Regions from separate parts of the Homo sapiens genome. Here all the other regions are linked to region 4. The links are contacts of gene promoters, found by promoter capture Hi-C in blood cells and fetal thymus (Javierre and others, 2016). All regions are on one chromosome and are shown on one strand. The core of a region is centred on a gene start or on the middle of the fragment in contact, and the rest is flanking DNA. Distances in the headings are between cores, read along the strand shown.

What was found. The method cuts DNA at HindIII sites, captures the fragments that hold promoters and counts their contacts. A CHiCAGO score of 5 or more calls a contact.
Region 1: a contact is called between the fragment with the promoter of ITGAX here and the fragment with the promoter of KRABD5 in region 4, in 1 of 17 cell types (erythroblasts). The highest score is 6.5, in erythroblasts.
Region 2: a contact is called between a fragment that was not itself captured here and the fragment with the promoter of KRABD5 in region 4, in 1 of 17 cell types (erythroblasts). The highest score is 6.9, in erythroblasts.
Region 3: a fragment that was not itself captured here is called in contact with the fragment with the promoter of KRABD5 in region 4 in 3 of 17 cell types (erythroblasts, non-activated CD4 T cells and megakaryocytes); the score reaches 5.9 in erythroblasts.
Region 5: a contact is called between a fragment that was not itself captured here and the fragment with the promoter of KRABD5 in region 4, in 1 of 17 cell types (erythroblasts). The highest score is 6.0, in erythroblasts.

Annotation. Positions count from the first base shown.
Region 1 is chr16:31,353,910-31,356,609 of GRCh38, reverse strand. ITGAX (integrin subunit alpha X) reads right to left here and starts at 1,434. Exons shown (of 30, transcript NM_000887.5): 1 at 1,319-1,434; 2 at 612-717. The coding sequence starts at 1,355. RefSeq lists enhancers at 1,663-1,852, 2,043-2,172. The HindIII fragment of the contact is 18,983 bases long and covers 1-2,700 here.
Region 2 is chr16:31,331,259-31,333,958 of GRCh38, reverse strand. It overlaps ITGAM (integrin subunit alpha M), which reads right to left. Exons shown (of 30, transcript NM_000632.4): 29 at 2,684-2,700; 30 at 1,082-2,323. The coding sequence ends at 2,252. Among named protein-coding and RNA genes, the nearest start is that of ITGAX, 23 kb to the left of the region's middle. RefSeq lists a silencer at 2,402-2,481. The HindIII fragment of the contact is 184 bases long and covers 1,331-1,514 here.
Region 3 is chr16:31,446,883-31,449,582 of GRCh38, reverse strand. No RefSeq gene overlaps it. Among named protein-coding and RNA genes, the nearest start is that of ZNF843, 5.4 kb to the right of the region's middle. The HindIII fragment of the contact is 6,267 bases long and covers 1-2,700 here.
Region 4 is chr16:31,711,874-31,714,573 of GRCh38, reverse strand. It overlaps KRABD5 (KRAB domain containing 5), which reads right to left and starts at 1,330. Exons shown (of 5, transcript NM_001130913.2): 1 at 1,139-1,330. The coding sequence starts at 1,141. RefSeq lists a silencer at 894-953 and an enhancer at 1,044-1,163. The HindIII fragment of the contact is 15,701 bases long and covers 1-2,700 here.
Region 5 is chr16:31,246,340-31,249,039 of GRCh38, reverse strand. No RefSeq gene overlaps it. Among named protein-coding and RNA genes, the nearest start is that of ITGAM, 12 kb to the left of the region's middle. RefSeq lists an enhancer at 2,644-2,700. The HindIII fragment of the contact is 1,342 bases long and covers 755-2,096 here.

The DNA.
Region 1 (2,700 bases), core at 185-2,684, 360 kb after region 4:
GAACACTTTAGGTAAGAGTGTGGACGCTGCAGCACAGCTGCCACTCCGGCAAGTTTGCGTTCCCTCCCTGAGCCTCAGCTTCCTCATCTGCAAGATGGATTTTAATAATTTAAAGTCCATGTGGAAGGGATTTCTGTCTGTTGGATTCTCTGGCGTATGGAGACAAGAAATATTTGTTGAGTCTGGGTGTGGTGGCTCACACCTGGAATCCCAGCACTTTGGGAGGCTGAGGCGGGAGGATTGCTTGAGCCCAGGAGTTTGAGACCAACCCAGGCAACATAGTGAGACCCTGTCTCTATATATTTTTAAATGTATAGAAAAAAAGAAAGAAAAAACAAATAAGTGTTTGTTGCACGACTGATTCCTACTCACAGGCTGTCGTGTGGACTAAATCAGCATCCACCTGTGATGAGCCTGGCACTGCACTTACTGCTCTGTAAATGTTAGCTGTGAGACCGTGCCTGCCTTCAAGGCAAATCTTCATTAGCCAGGGCAGTCGCTACACCAGACAGAGAGGAGAGTTTGCAAATAACAGGGCAGGGCCGGGGGCATGGGGCCCTGAGCAGGGAGAGGATGGATGGAGCCAAAGGCCAGCACCACCTGGGCCTCACCAGGAGTTGGCATACTGGACCACGCTGTCTCCAAACCCAGCGCTGTCCACACGGAAGGCTGTCAGCTCCTCTGTGTCCAAGTTGAAACCTAGAGAAGTTGCTAAGGCTGGGAAAGAGGTGGGAAGAGAGCTTTGGAGAAGGGTCTTCCTTCTGCCTGGCTGCCCTCCACCCCCGGCCCCAGCGTCCCAATCTCCCCTCCGAGCCTGATGCCCGGGGTGCCTGGGTCTTCTGGACACCCAACTCATCCCCTTCTCTCCTTCCCAGGGTCCAGGGATGCCCCTTGCCCACCATCCACTATCGAGTTGCAGTTCTCCATTTCTGCAGAGCAGTACCCAGGCTCTAAAAAGGATCTTTCCCCAACGTGCACCTCGGGCGCTATGAGAGTGAGTCCAGGAAAACTTGCGGACCAAAGCATCCTGTCCACAGAGCACAAGTTGGCGCATTCTGCCTATTTTAAAAATCTCTGCAGTACAGAGACAACTGGCCTCTCTTCCAGCATCTCTGGAACTCTCCCAAAATTGGTTCATCAATATCCTCTCCCTCCACAAACTCCAAATCTCAGACCCTATGTGCCTGCCTCCCCCTCAGGCTTGACTGAGTCTCTCTTCCTACCCAGATCCTAACCCCCCAGCCTGAGCCCCCAGTTCAGGGCCCTGGCTCCCTTGGGCCTGGGTCCCCAGCCCTACTTCATTGGGGTCCAGGCTCACCTGTGAACAGGAGGAGTGCTGCCCTGGTCCTGGTCATGACTAGAAGGTCAGATGTGGAGCTCTGAGCTCCTGGGCCGTTGCAGGAAGAGCTGGACCAAGGTACTGAGGAAGCAAGTGGGCAGAGAGGTGGCCAGGGGAAGGAAGAAGATTGTCAGCATGAGTCAGAGGGGGCGGGCAGAGTACGCAACTGATCCGAGGACAGGCTCGGCCTCCCACACGCCCCCACCCCCCAACCGGAGTCACTCTCATCAGATGACTTGGCTTGATGCCCTTTGCTTAGATGGATGCAAATCCCTGCCCTGCCCCTCCCAGGCTCACCCTTGACTGCCAGAAGGCACCCCTTGACCTTGAAATTTCAGCCAGACTGGAGGGGGTTTGGGCAGATGCCAACCCCTCAGGACCCTAAAGGAAACCCTGGTGGGAGCCCTCCACTCTGACCTGGAAAGTCTGGGCCAAGGAGTGGGGCATCCGGGTCCCTAGGAGGAGCACAGAGCGAGTATTTGTTCATTCATTCATTCACTCATTTATTCATCATTTATTCAAGAAGCCTAATTTGAGCCTGGAGATGCAAGCCCTCTGCTAGGTGGGGAAGAAAATATAAACCACAAAGCACCAGCCCTGGGGTCAGTGGAGAGGCAGATGTATAAACAGCAAGTTCATTGCTGTGAGGGGGAAGCACAGAGACCACAGGGTGCCTCACCCGGGTTGTGAAGGTGTGGCTTTCTGAGAAGGCTTCCTGAAAGAGGTGGTGCTTGAGCTGAGCATTGAAAGCAACCAAAGTTGGGAGATGACAGAGCAGCCAGACATGGATGAGGCAGGGGACAGGAGGGTCTGTGTGTGAAATCAGCAATGGGAACCAGACAGTCAGGGTGGGAAGTTGTAAGAGACAAGGTCAGGGCCACTGGGAGGAAAGCAAGGGGAAGCAGGCCTCAGGCCGTGGAAGCCCCCCTAATGTACATCAATTTTTTTTTTTAATTTCAGAAACAGGGTCTTGCTCTGCCACCCAGGCTGGAGTGCAGTGGGTGCATAGTTCACTGCTGCTTCGAACTCCTGGGCCCAAGGGATCCTCCTGCCTCAGCCTCCTGAGTAGCCAGGACTATAGGATTGCACCACTGCACCTGAATATATATATATATTTATATATATATATTTTTTAATTTTAGTAGAGACAGAGTTTCCCCATGTTGGCCAGGCTGGTCTCAAACTCCTGATCTCAATCAATCCTCCTGCCTCAGCCTCCTAAATTGCTGGGATCACAGGTGTGAGCCACCACACCTGGTGAAGACACATTGATTTTGTCCTGAGAGTGGAGGACAGCATTGAAGGGAATTCATGGGGACTGAGATCTTCACATTTTCATTTTAGAAAGTGGGTTATATGGG
Region 2 (2,700 bases), core at 173-2,672, 380 kb after region 4:
CCGTGTCAGGGGCTGTGTTCACCTGTCAAACATCCAGCCAGCAGCACTGGTATCACTTTCTCTGGCCACTAGAGCCCACTCTCCTCACACTCAGGGCAGGCCAGAAGTGGTAGGAAATTAACACACTCTCCCCACCAAGAGCAGCCCTCATCCAATAGCTAAGTGGAATCGGTGTCTATGCGCTCCAGCCTTCTCCCCTGGGTGGGGTGATACTGAGGTGCGTGTTCTGCACTGCCTCCGAGAACTGCCCAGTGGGGTGAAGCTCCAGGAACTCACAGCAGCTTCTCTGTGGGTGATACACCTGTTATTGGCAGCCTTCCCTTCCTCGGTATTTCCTGGAGCCATCTCTTTATTTTATTTTATTTTATTTATTTTTTTTTTTTTAAGATGGAGTCCTGCTCTGTCGCCCAGGCTGGAGTGCAGTGATGCAATCATATCTCACTGCAACCTCTACCTCCCAGGTTAAAGCAATTCTCCTTCCTCAGCCTCCCAAGTAGCTGAGATTACAGTTGCCTGCCACCATGCATGGCTAATTTTTTTGTATTTTTAGTAGAGACGGGGTTTCACCAAGTTCGACAGGCTGGTCTCAAACTCCTGAGATCAGGTGATCCACCAGCCTCGGCCTCCCAAAGTTCTGGGATTACAGAGGCGTGAGCCACTGTGCCCGACCTTTATTTTATTATTTTGTTTATTTTTGAGACAGGATCTCACTCTGTCACCCAGGCTGGAGTGCAGTGGTGCGATCATGGCTCACTGCAGTCTAGACCTTCTGGGCTCAAGTAATCCTCCTGCATCAGCCTCCGGAGTAGCTGTGACTACAGGCATGTAACACCAGGCCTGGCTAAATTTTTTTAATTTTTCGTGGACACAGGTTCTCACTATGTTGCCCAGGCTAGTCTCGAACTCCTGAGCTCAAGCAATCTTCACACCTTCACCTCCCAAAATGCTGGGATTTCAGGTGTGAGCCACCATGCCTGGCCTGCCACCTCTTAAATACGCTTGTTTCACCCAAATTCTTGGGTTTGCTTCTGGGAGAACCCAAACTTCCAGGAACATATCCTATAAATTATCCTTACATATATGCAAAAATGACATATATTTGATTTATTAACTCAGCATTGATGCAATAACAAGAGAATGAAAATAGTATATCAAAAGAAGACTGGTTAAATACATTATGGTACACTCACACAATGGAATACTATGCAGCGGTATAAAAGAATGAAAAAGTAATTTATGTCTTAATATGAACCGATGTCTGAGAAATATTGGTGAAAAAAAGCAAGATACAGACCAATATAAAGTATGCTACCATTTGTGTAAAAAAGCTTGTGTGTGTGTATGTGTGGTGTGTGTGCACACGTGCATACACTTGCACATCGCCTGGAATCTGTCTGAAGGAAACCTCAAAACACAATCTTGACTACCTTTAAGGAGGTGACTTGAATATCTGGAAAGGGAGACTTTTCACTGTACACTTGAATGCCTTGTGATTTTTGTACCATAGACAAGCTTATCCATCCAAAAAATTAAAGTCACATTGAAATAATAAATGAATCCAGAAAGGAAGCTTCATCATTCCTCAGTGGGCATCTTTATTGGGCATCAGCGCTGGTGTGGAGGAGGTTCCTGGTTCCACCCACGGCTTCTCATGGAGTCTCCATCCAAGCTGCGCAGGCTCCAGCAGGCCGCAGGCTCGCAGGCGACGGGAAGTCCCACTTCTTTCAGTGGAGAGAAGCTGCTGTGTTTCCCTCTGTCTTCACCCACAGGATTGACCGTCCCCTCTCCCGGAGGAAAACCCAGCAGCGGCTTCACCCACGCACAAGGGAGCCCAGGCAGTTCCCTTCTGCCGGAGAGGCTACGCTGCCGTCACCTACCCACACGCCAGAGACATCTGAGTCACACACGTGAGCCACACGCCCCTGAGCACACACATGCACACACTCGCACACATGCACACACTTGCACACACATGGACACACGCACACACACTTGGACACACTCACATACTTGCACACACTCACACATGGGCGTGCAAGTGCACATGCACGCACACGCACACATGTGCACACACTTGCACACAGACACTTGCACACACGCACATACACACTTGCACACACACAAATGGAAGCCCAAGCCCGTCCTGTCGGGGATACTTCGCTGTCCGACGTGTCCAGCAGCCTGGGGGCTACGTGTGGTCTGGGCAGAGTCCTGCTGGCCACCGAGAGGCAGCTCTGTCGGGAAGGAGCCGCTACTGGGGTTCGGCCCCCGGGGGACCCCCTTCACTCATCATGTCCTTGTATTGCCGCTTGAAGAAGCCGAGCTGCGGGGCAGAGGAGGGCAGTGAGAGCGACAGCAGCCAGGGAGCGTGCGGCTCCGCAGACCAGGGGGAGGGGGCGGGAGGGCCGGCAGAGACAGAAGGGACCCAGGAGGGCGGGGCGGGAGGGGAGTGACATCCGCGTCGGGGCCTGGAGAAAAACAGAAACTACAAGGAGGGCGACTCGTTCTCAGCGCGCCCCGCGCATGAACCCGGCCACCCTCCCTAAGAGACTGAGGCGCAGAGAGGCTCCCAGACTCGCCCCAGTCACACAGCTGGCAGCCCCGCCGGGGAAACCGAGGCACGGAGCTGCAGCGCGAGGCCCGAGAGGATGAAGGGAGGGGGTGGGGGAGCAGCGGGGAGCACCTTGTACAGCGCGGCGG
Region 3 (2,700 bases), core at 2-2,501, 260 kb after region 4:
TCTACAGATGACCTATTCTGGACATGTCATATAAATGGAATCATACAATGTGTGGTCATTCGTGTCTGGCTTCTTTCATATAGCATAATGTTATCAAGGTTCATCCACACTGTAGTATCTCATTTCTTTTTATTAGGAATAATACAGTTTCACTTTATGGATTGCTGTGGTTTGAACCTGTCCCCTAAAGTTCATGTGTTGGAAACTTAACCTCCAATTCAACTGTTGAGAGGTGGGAACTTTAAGAAGTGATTAGGTTATGTGAGCTCTTCCCTCATGAATGGATTAATGGCATTATTGCATGAGTAGGTTAGTTATCAAGGGAGTGGACAGCTGATAGATAAATGGATGGGTTCTGCCCCCACCCACCCCCTCTCTTGCACTGTCTTGCCCTTCCGCTTTCTGCTGTGGGATGAGGCAGAAAGAAGGCCCTCACCAGATGCAGGGCCCTTGACCTTCGACTTCCCAACCTCTAGAACTGAAAGAAAGATATTTCTATTCTTTATAAATTATCCAGCCTTAGGCATTCTACGATGCAGCACAAAACAGACTAAGACATGGATATGCCACTTTCTTCAATCATCAGTTGACAGACATTTGGGTTGTTTCCACTCGGGCTATTATGAATAATGCTGCTATGAATACTCACGTACAAGGTTTTTGTGGAATATGCTTTTATTTCTTTTGGTTACATATCTAGAAGGGAAATTGCTGGATCATATAACTCTATGTTTAAACATCTGAGGAACTGCCAGACCATTTTCCAAAGTTAATGAATGATTTTACGTTCCAACCAGCCATGTGTGAGGGTTCCAATCTCTCCACATTCTCACAAAAACTTGTTAATTAACTGTCTTTTCAGCTTTTTTTTTTTTGAGTCGGAATCTCACTCTGTCACCAGGCTGGAGTGCAGTGGCGTGATCTCAGCTCACTGCAACCTACGCCTCCCAGGTTCAAGTGATTCTCCTGCCTCAGCCTCCCAAGTGACTGGGATTATAGGCGCCTGTCACCACGCCCAGCAAATGTTTGTATTTTTAGTAGAGACAGGGTTTCACCAAGTTGGCCAGGCTGGTCTCAAACTCCTGAGCTCAGGTGATCCGCCCACCTCGGCCTCCCAAAGTGCTGGGATTACAAGTGTGAGCCACTGCCTGTAAATATTATCATTTAAAAAATATCATTTTTAAAAATATTATTTAAAAAAAAAATTTTAATGTTTTTTAAATATTATTTTTAAAAATAATAATAATGTTATTATTATTTGAGATAGAGTCTCCATCTGTTTCCCAGGCTGGAGTGCAGTGGCGTGATCTCAGCTCACTTCAGCCTTCACCTGCCAGGTTCAAGTGATTCTCCTGCCTCAGCCTCCTGAGTAGCTGGGACTACAGGCACCCGCCACCATGCCTGGCTAATTTTTTGTGTGTTTTTAGTACAGACTAGGTTTCACCATGTTCACCAGGCTGGTCTCGAACTCCTGAGCCCAGGTGATTCGCCCACCTCAGCCTCTCAAAGTGATGGGATTACAGGCATGAGCCGCCACTACTGGCGTAATTACCTGTCTTTTTTATTATCACCATCCTAATATGTATGATGTGGCACCTCGTTGTAGTTTTGATTTGCATTTTTCTGAGGACTAATGATGTTGAGGATCTTTTCATGTAATTATTGGCCATTTATATAACTTCTTTGAACTGTCTATTCAAGTCATTTGCCCATTTAATTTTTTTTCTTTTTCTTTCTTTTTCTTGAGACAAGGACTCCTCTGTTGCCCAGGAGTGCAGTGGCACAATTTCGGCTTACTGCAGCCTCCACCTCCATGGTTCAAGTGATTCTCAGCCTTCCGAGTAGCTGGGACTAGAGGTGCAGGCCACCACACTCGACTGATTTCTTTCTTTCTTTCCTTTTTTTGTTTTTTGAGACTGAGTCTTGCTCTCTCGCCTAGGCTGGAGTGCAGTGGCGTGATCTCTTCTCACTGTGACCTCTGCCTCCCGGGTTCAAGTGATTCTCCTGTCTCAGCCTCCCGAGTAGCTGGGATTACAGGCACATGCCACCATGCCTGGCTAATTTTTGTACTTTTAGTAGAGACAGGGTTTCACCATGTTGTCCAGACTGTTCTCAAACTCCTGACCTCAGGTGATCCGCCCACCTCAGCCTCCCAAAGTGCTGGGATTACAGGCGTGAGCCACCGTGCCCAGCCTAATTCCATTTTTAAATTGGATTATTTGTCTTTTTTATCATTGAGTTGCAATAGTTCTTTATACAGTCTAGGTACAAATCCCTTCCCAGATATATGATTAGCAAAGATTTTTACCTGCTCTGTGGGTTATCTTCTCCTTTTCTTTTTTATCTTCTCTTTTTCTTAATAATGTCCTGTGAATCTCCCTGACGTCTGGGTATTTGGAAAGAAAAAGAAAAAAATTAAAGAATAATGTCATATGAAGCGCAAGAGGTTTCAATTTTGATGGTGTTCAGTTTCTGTATTTTTTTCTTTTGTTGCTTGTGCTTTTGGTGTCATATCTAAGAAAGCATTGCTTAATTCAAAGTTATAAAGATTCTAAGAGTCCTAACTTTTAGTTCTATGATTCAATTTGAGTTAACTTTTATATGTATTGTGATATAGGGATCCAAATTCATTCTTTTGCATGCAGATATTCAATATCTACCTTGTATATATACATATATTTTTTTAATTTTTAATTTTTT
Region 4 (2,700 bases), core at 81-2,580:
CTTTCAGGTCCATCGAGGTGGGGTGCCTTCTTCCCATCTCATCAGCTCTCCACAAGCATCTAGCGAGCTCTAAAACCTACCCCAGGATAGCAAACGTCAGACCTTCCTCCACTCTCCTGGCACTGCACGCCTTCTGGGGAGTGCTGCCAATCCTACCTCAACTGAAGGGACAGGAGCAGGTGCCCAGCCAGTCAGATGTTCAGTGACCTAACAGGTTTCAGGAAAATAGCAAAATCACTCAAAACAGTTTTTATAGAAAGGAAGGAAACTGTAAGGCACTTACACTTTATACTTCAACAGGTAAGGCCAAAATACCTCTTTCGAGCAAGAAACATGTCATTTAATTATTTCCATAATAGCAGATCATTTAGTATATGTGAACACTTCTAGGAGGTGCCAAGTCCTGTCTCATAACATTTGGCATTAAAGTCGGACATCCAGATAGCAGTAGAATATGGAACACAGATATCCACTGTCACAAATCCTCCACTGCAAAAGAGAGGACCTGATATTTTAATGAATGTTTGTAATTGACCAATTAATCTAGCACACTTTCTGTGGAAATGTATTCGTTTTCTACAGCCAAAGTGGAAGAGAGATTGTCCCTATTTCTTTTCCCCAGCAGCATTCCTAAGCTGAGCCCTGGGATTTTGAAATCGCTGCTCCAGAGGACCCTAAACCACAAACCACGGCGGCAGGCTTCCCATTTCACCAATCGCTGTTTACCTAAATCAACCCTTTAACGCTTTAAGGGTGACTCCCCTTAATTTGTAAGAGGAAAAAGGAGACTGGGACACCACGGGGCACAGTATCTTCCCACACACGAATCACACGCCGACCCGGGATTTCCCCTAAGACCCTCACGTTCTCACCGCACAATCTCGGGAGACGCCGGGCTGCGGCGACCCAAAGACGGCTCCGGCCATGGCAGAGGTCGCTCTGCGGGGTCGGGAGGGGACCGGACGCGCGGGGTCCCGGCTGCCGGCCCGGCCGCCATCTTGCGGCGGAGGGGACCAAGGGCCGAGTTGCGTCCGCGGGGACTCAGGGCCCAGACCCCGAAGCTAACCTCAAAGAGGGTTCCCGCCGCTTCCGACCGCCCCTCTCCCTCTTCTGGGGACCCCCGACCTGGCACATTCACCATTTCCCAGCTTCCGGGATGTCCTGGCGTCTGAGCTACGGATCTCCCGGTGCCTGCCGGTCACAGAGTAACAGAGGTTCTGTCTATTCTCAGAACGCGAAGCCGCCTTGGCCTCCCAGATGGAAGGACTGGGAGCCCCTGGTGAAGAGACTGAGCTCTTACTGCAGCCAACAAAGGCCACCGCCAAATCCCGGAAGCCGCCCCTGCTCTCCGGCTACTCCCGATTGGAGGATTTCCACTCCGACGCCACTGATTGGGTAAAGCTCCAGGCCCCGCCCTCTCACTCGTTCTGCTTTTTGAATGGGAGACAGGCTCATTGAGGTGGGGCCACCTGCTGAGGGTATTACAGCTAATTTAAGGGGTGAGCTTGGACTTGAAATGCACTTGCTTTCCCGTACCTGGTTTTGCTTGTATAAGGCATCTTATTAGCTAATTAAGTTTAAGAAGGAGGGCATTTGGGCACCTTTAAAACAACTTTTTAACCGTTCTAATAACACAGGAAAGACCCTCATCCCATCCTTAGCACCTCTCATCACACGGTACCCCACTGCTCAGGACATAACTGTGGGACTGCAGAGGAAACTGCTGGGGTTTTTGGGGAGCATGCAGGAGGCTTCAACAGCCAAGGTAACGGTGGCTTCCCTTGGGTGTCACTTAAAATCTTGGGGTCAGGGACATCTTTTATCCAGTTGGCTCAGGGAAACTAACAGACAGGAGGATTGTAATTTTTTTTTTCTTTTCTGAATTTCCAAGACATAAAGGACTATCCAAGCATCCCAAAAGGCATTCAATTATACATAAGGCTGAGGGCCTCCCTGCTCTGGAGAGGGATGGCCTGGCAGCCACCAGCTGCAGTGAGCTGAGATAGTGCCACTGCAATGGGCCTTAAACTTGCCCTCTTGTAGACAGGCCACCTCCACACACCCGCTTCTCACATCGCAGGCTCTAACCCTCCGGTCCATCAAGGTGGGCTGCCTTCTTCCCATGTCATTAGCTCTCCACAAGCATCTAGTTAGCTCTAAAACCTACCACAGGATAGCAAACGTCAGACCCTCCTCCACTCTCCCGGCACTGCACGCCTTCTGGGGAGTGCTGCCAATCCCACCTCAACTGAAGGGACAAATCTGGGCAGGTGCCCAGTCAGATGTTCAGTGACCTAACAGGTCCAGCATGCCCAGGGCCTGACCCCACAGCCTAGCACCCCTCCCCCACCTGGCCTTCAATCCAGCCTTTCTTCTCCAATGACGGGATGTTCACCTGTGCCACAATCCCATTAGTCTAGTGACGAGGCCAGGTAAATCCCAGCTGAGTGCCTGTGACTCCACCCTCTTACTTCCCACTCAGGTGACATTACAAGCATAACCTTGAATTTGAGCTAATTTATACATATTCCTCTCCTAGTAACCTGTTTGACAACAGCCCTCACAATCCAGAGACTGGGGCAGCAGGTTCCAAAACCTCACTTTATTCCAATGTGAAATGAAGACATGATGGTTTAAAAATGAGAAAAAGTTCCTGATAAGCTGTGGGGGTGCTTCACTTGCCAGCTCATGCCCATTCCC
Region 5 (2,700 bases), core at 176-2,675, 470 kb after region 4:
AGGAGAAGTAAAAGGGTGGATCACACACCCTGGCCCCTCAAAGTCCCTAGAGCTAGCATTAAACTGTATATGGTGTGATGACTTGGAGATTATGCCCATCTTTCCACTAGACTCTTCATTCAACAGGTATTAACTATGTGCCAGGTGCTGCTCCAGGCTCAGGGAAATGGATGTGAACGAGAGAGGAAACCTCCCTACCTTTAAGGAGCTTACGTTCTTGGGGGGTGATAAACAATGGCTGCCTTGAGAGCAGTGACTATGTCCTGCTCATGGCTTTATCCCAGGACCCAGCACCTTATCTGGCTGGGGCTCACTGAGTGTTGCTTAGATGAACCACATCACAATTGAGTTTGTGTGGACACTTGTGGTTATCTCCCCAGCATCCAGTTTCCCCCTTCCCAGCGACTCTCAATTTCCACTTGGAGGACTACGTGGTTTGGGAAGAACTGACTTTGCCCCAGGTCTGAGGGTGGAGCATGTGAACTACACTAAGACAATCCAACTATTCTATCGCTCTGACATAAGTCGTTGGTTCAAGTGTGGGCATGTGTCTAATCAAAGTGGATCTCAGGACAAAGATGTTTTTTCTCCTCCTAGTGTGATGTAAAACCTGGAACCACTGCAGCTATTTTTGCTACTGTGGTGCTGGGATTACAGATGTGAGCCACTGCACCCGGCCAAAAATTTTTTTAAATTTAAGAAAAGAAATCAAGGGAGATAAGAAATGATTACTGTTGTTTTAAGCCTCTAAGCTTAGGGTCATTTGTCATGCAGTTTCAGATAATTATTAGGTGGGTGCAAATGTAACTAAAGTAATTAAAGTCATGGCCAAAACCGCAATTACGTTTGCATCAAACTAATAGTACAATTGACTATTGGGTGTGTCTGGAATACCATCCTTCTGCTTCTTTTTGTTTTCCTTAGAAACTCCTACTTGCTCTCCAAGGGCCAACTCAAGTTGTCACCTCTTCTGAGAAGCCTGCCCTAATTTTCCTGCTTAACCCCAAGCTCTGTTACACACAGCTCTATTAGCAGTCCTCACACTGTGATCTTATTGTTTATGAGGTTATTTCTCTCACTATAGCTTTTTGAAGGCAACAATTTTGAATTATCCAAATGCATACGCCTAAGACTGAGCATGGTATGTGCTACATTAAAAAGGAGTTTGATGAAGTTTGGTTGAATAAATAAATAATGGAAACTTCAGCTGTGGACAAGACAAAGAATGCTGGCGGGGTGCGGTGGCTCACGCCTGTAATCCCAGCACTTTGGGACGCCAAGGCGGGCGGATCACAAGATCAAGAGATCAAGACCATCCTGGCCAACATGGTGAAACCCCATCTCTACTAAAAAATACAAAAATTAGCCGGGCATGGTGGCGAGCACCTGTAGTCCCAGCTACTCGGGAGGCTGAGGCAGGAGAATCACTTGAACCCAGAAGGCGGAGGTTGCAGTGAGCTGAGATCATGTCACTGCACTCCAGCCTGGGGGACAAAGCAAGACTCCGTAAAAAAAAAAAAAAAAAAAGAGAGAGAGCGCGCACAAATTCAGATGTAGTTATAGACATGCAAATTAACTGGTTGATGTGAACGACACAGCTAATAAGGTAGCATTAATAGATGTATGTCATGCCTGTAGTGCCAGCTACTTGGAGGGTCAAGGGCAGGAGGATGGCTTGAGCTTAGGAGTTCAAGGCTGCAGTGAGCTATGATGTACTGCACTCCTGCACTCCAGCCTGGGCAACAGAGCAAGATCCTGTCTTTAAAAAAAAAGATGAATAGGCTGTGTGTGGGTGTGTGGTGGCTCACGCCTGTAATCCCAGCACTTTGGGAGGCCAGGGAGGATGGATCACTTGAGGCCAGGAGTTTGAGACCAGCCTGGCCAACATGGCAAAACCCCATCTCCACTAAAAATACAAAAATTAGCCAGGCATAGTAGCACATGCCTTTAAGTAATCCCAGCTACTTGGGAGGCTGAGGCATTAGAATCGCTTGAGCCTGGGAGGCAGAGGTTTCTGTGAGCCGAGATCGCACCACTGCACTCCAGCCTGGGCGACAGAGCAACACTCTGTCTCAAAAAAATAAATAAATAAAGCTTTTTAAGCACTAAAACTCATTTCACAAATACCATTCCAATTTCATGCCACAGAAAGGCAGAAATGATACATACCACATCCCTGATTAAGGTAAAATCAGAAATGATAGATTAAGGTAAAAACAGAAAATACTGAAAATATAACTAAAAGTGCCTAATTCTTGAAAATTGAAAATGTAGAACAAATAGTCAATACATACTATAATGACATACTGTATTTTACAATAATAATAATAATACATAATAAAAACTGACACTGATTGAGAATTTACTCTGTGCCAGACATGGTTCTAAGTGATTAGCATGTGTTCACTCACTGACCCTTCATAGAAATCCTATGAAGAAGGTATTCTAGCCCCATTTTGCAGATGAAGAAACTGAGGCACATGGAAGTTATGTAACCAGGCTGGGTGCAGTGGCTCACACTGGGACTTTGCGGGGCTGAGGTGGGAGGATCACTTGAAGCTAGGAGTTCAAGACCGATAATATAGCAAGACCTCTTCTGTTGTGGGAAGCCCGGAACCCCTAATGGAGGGACCAGCTGAAGCCATGGCAGAAGAACATAAATTGTGAAGATTTCATGGACATTTATTAGTTTCCCAAATT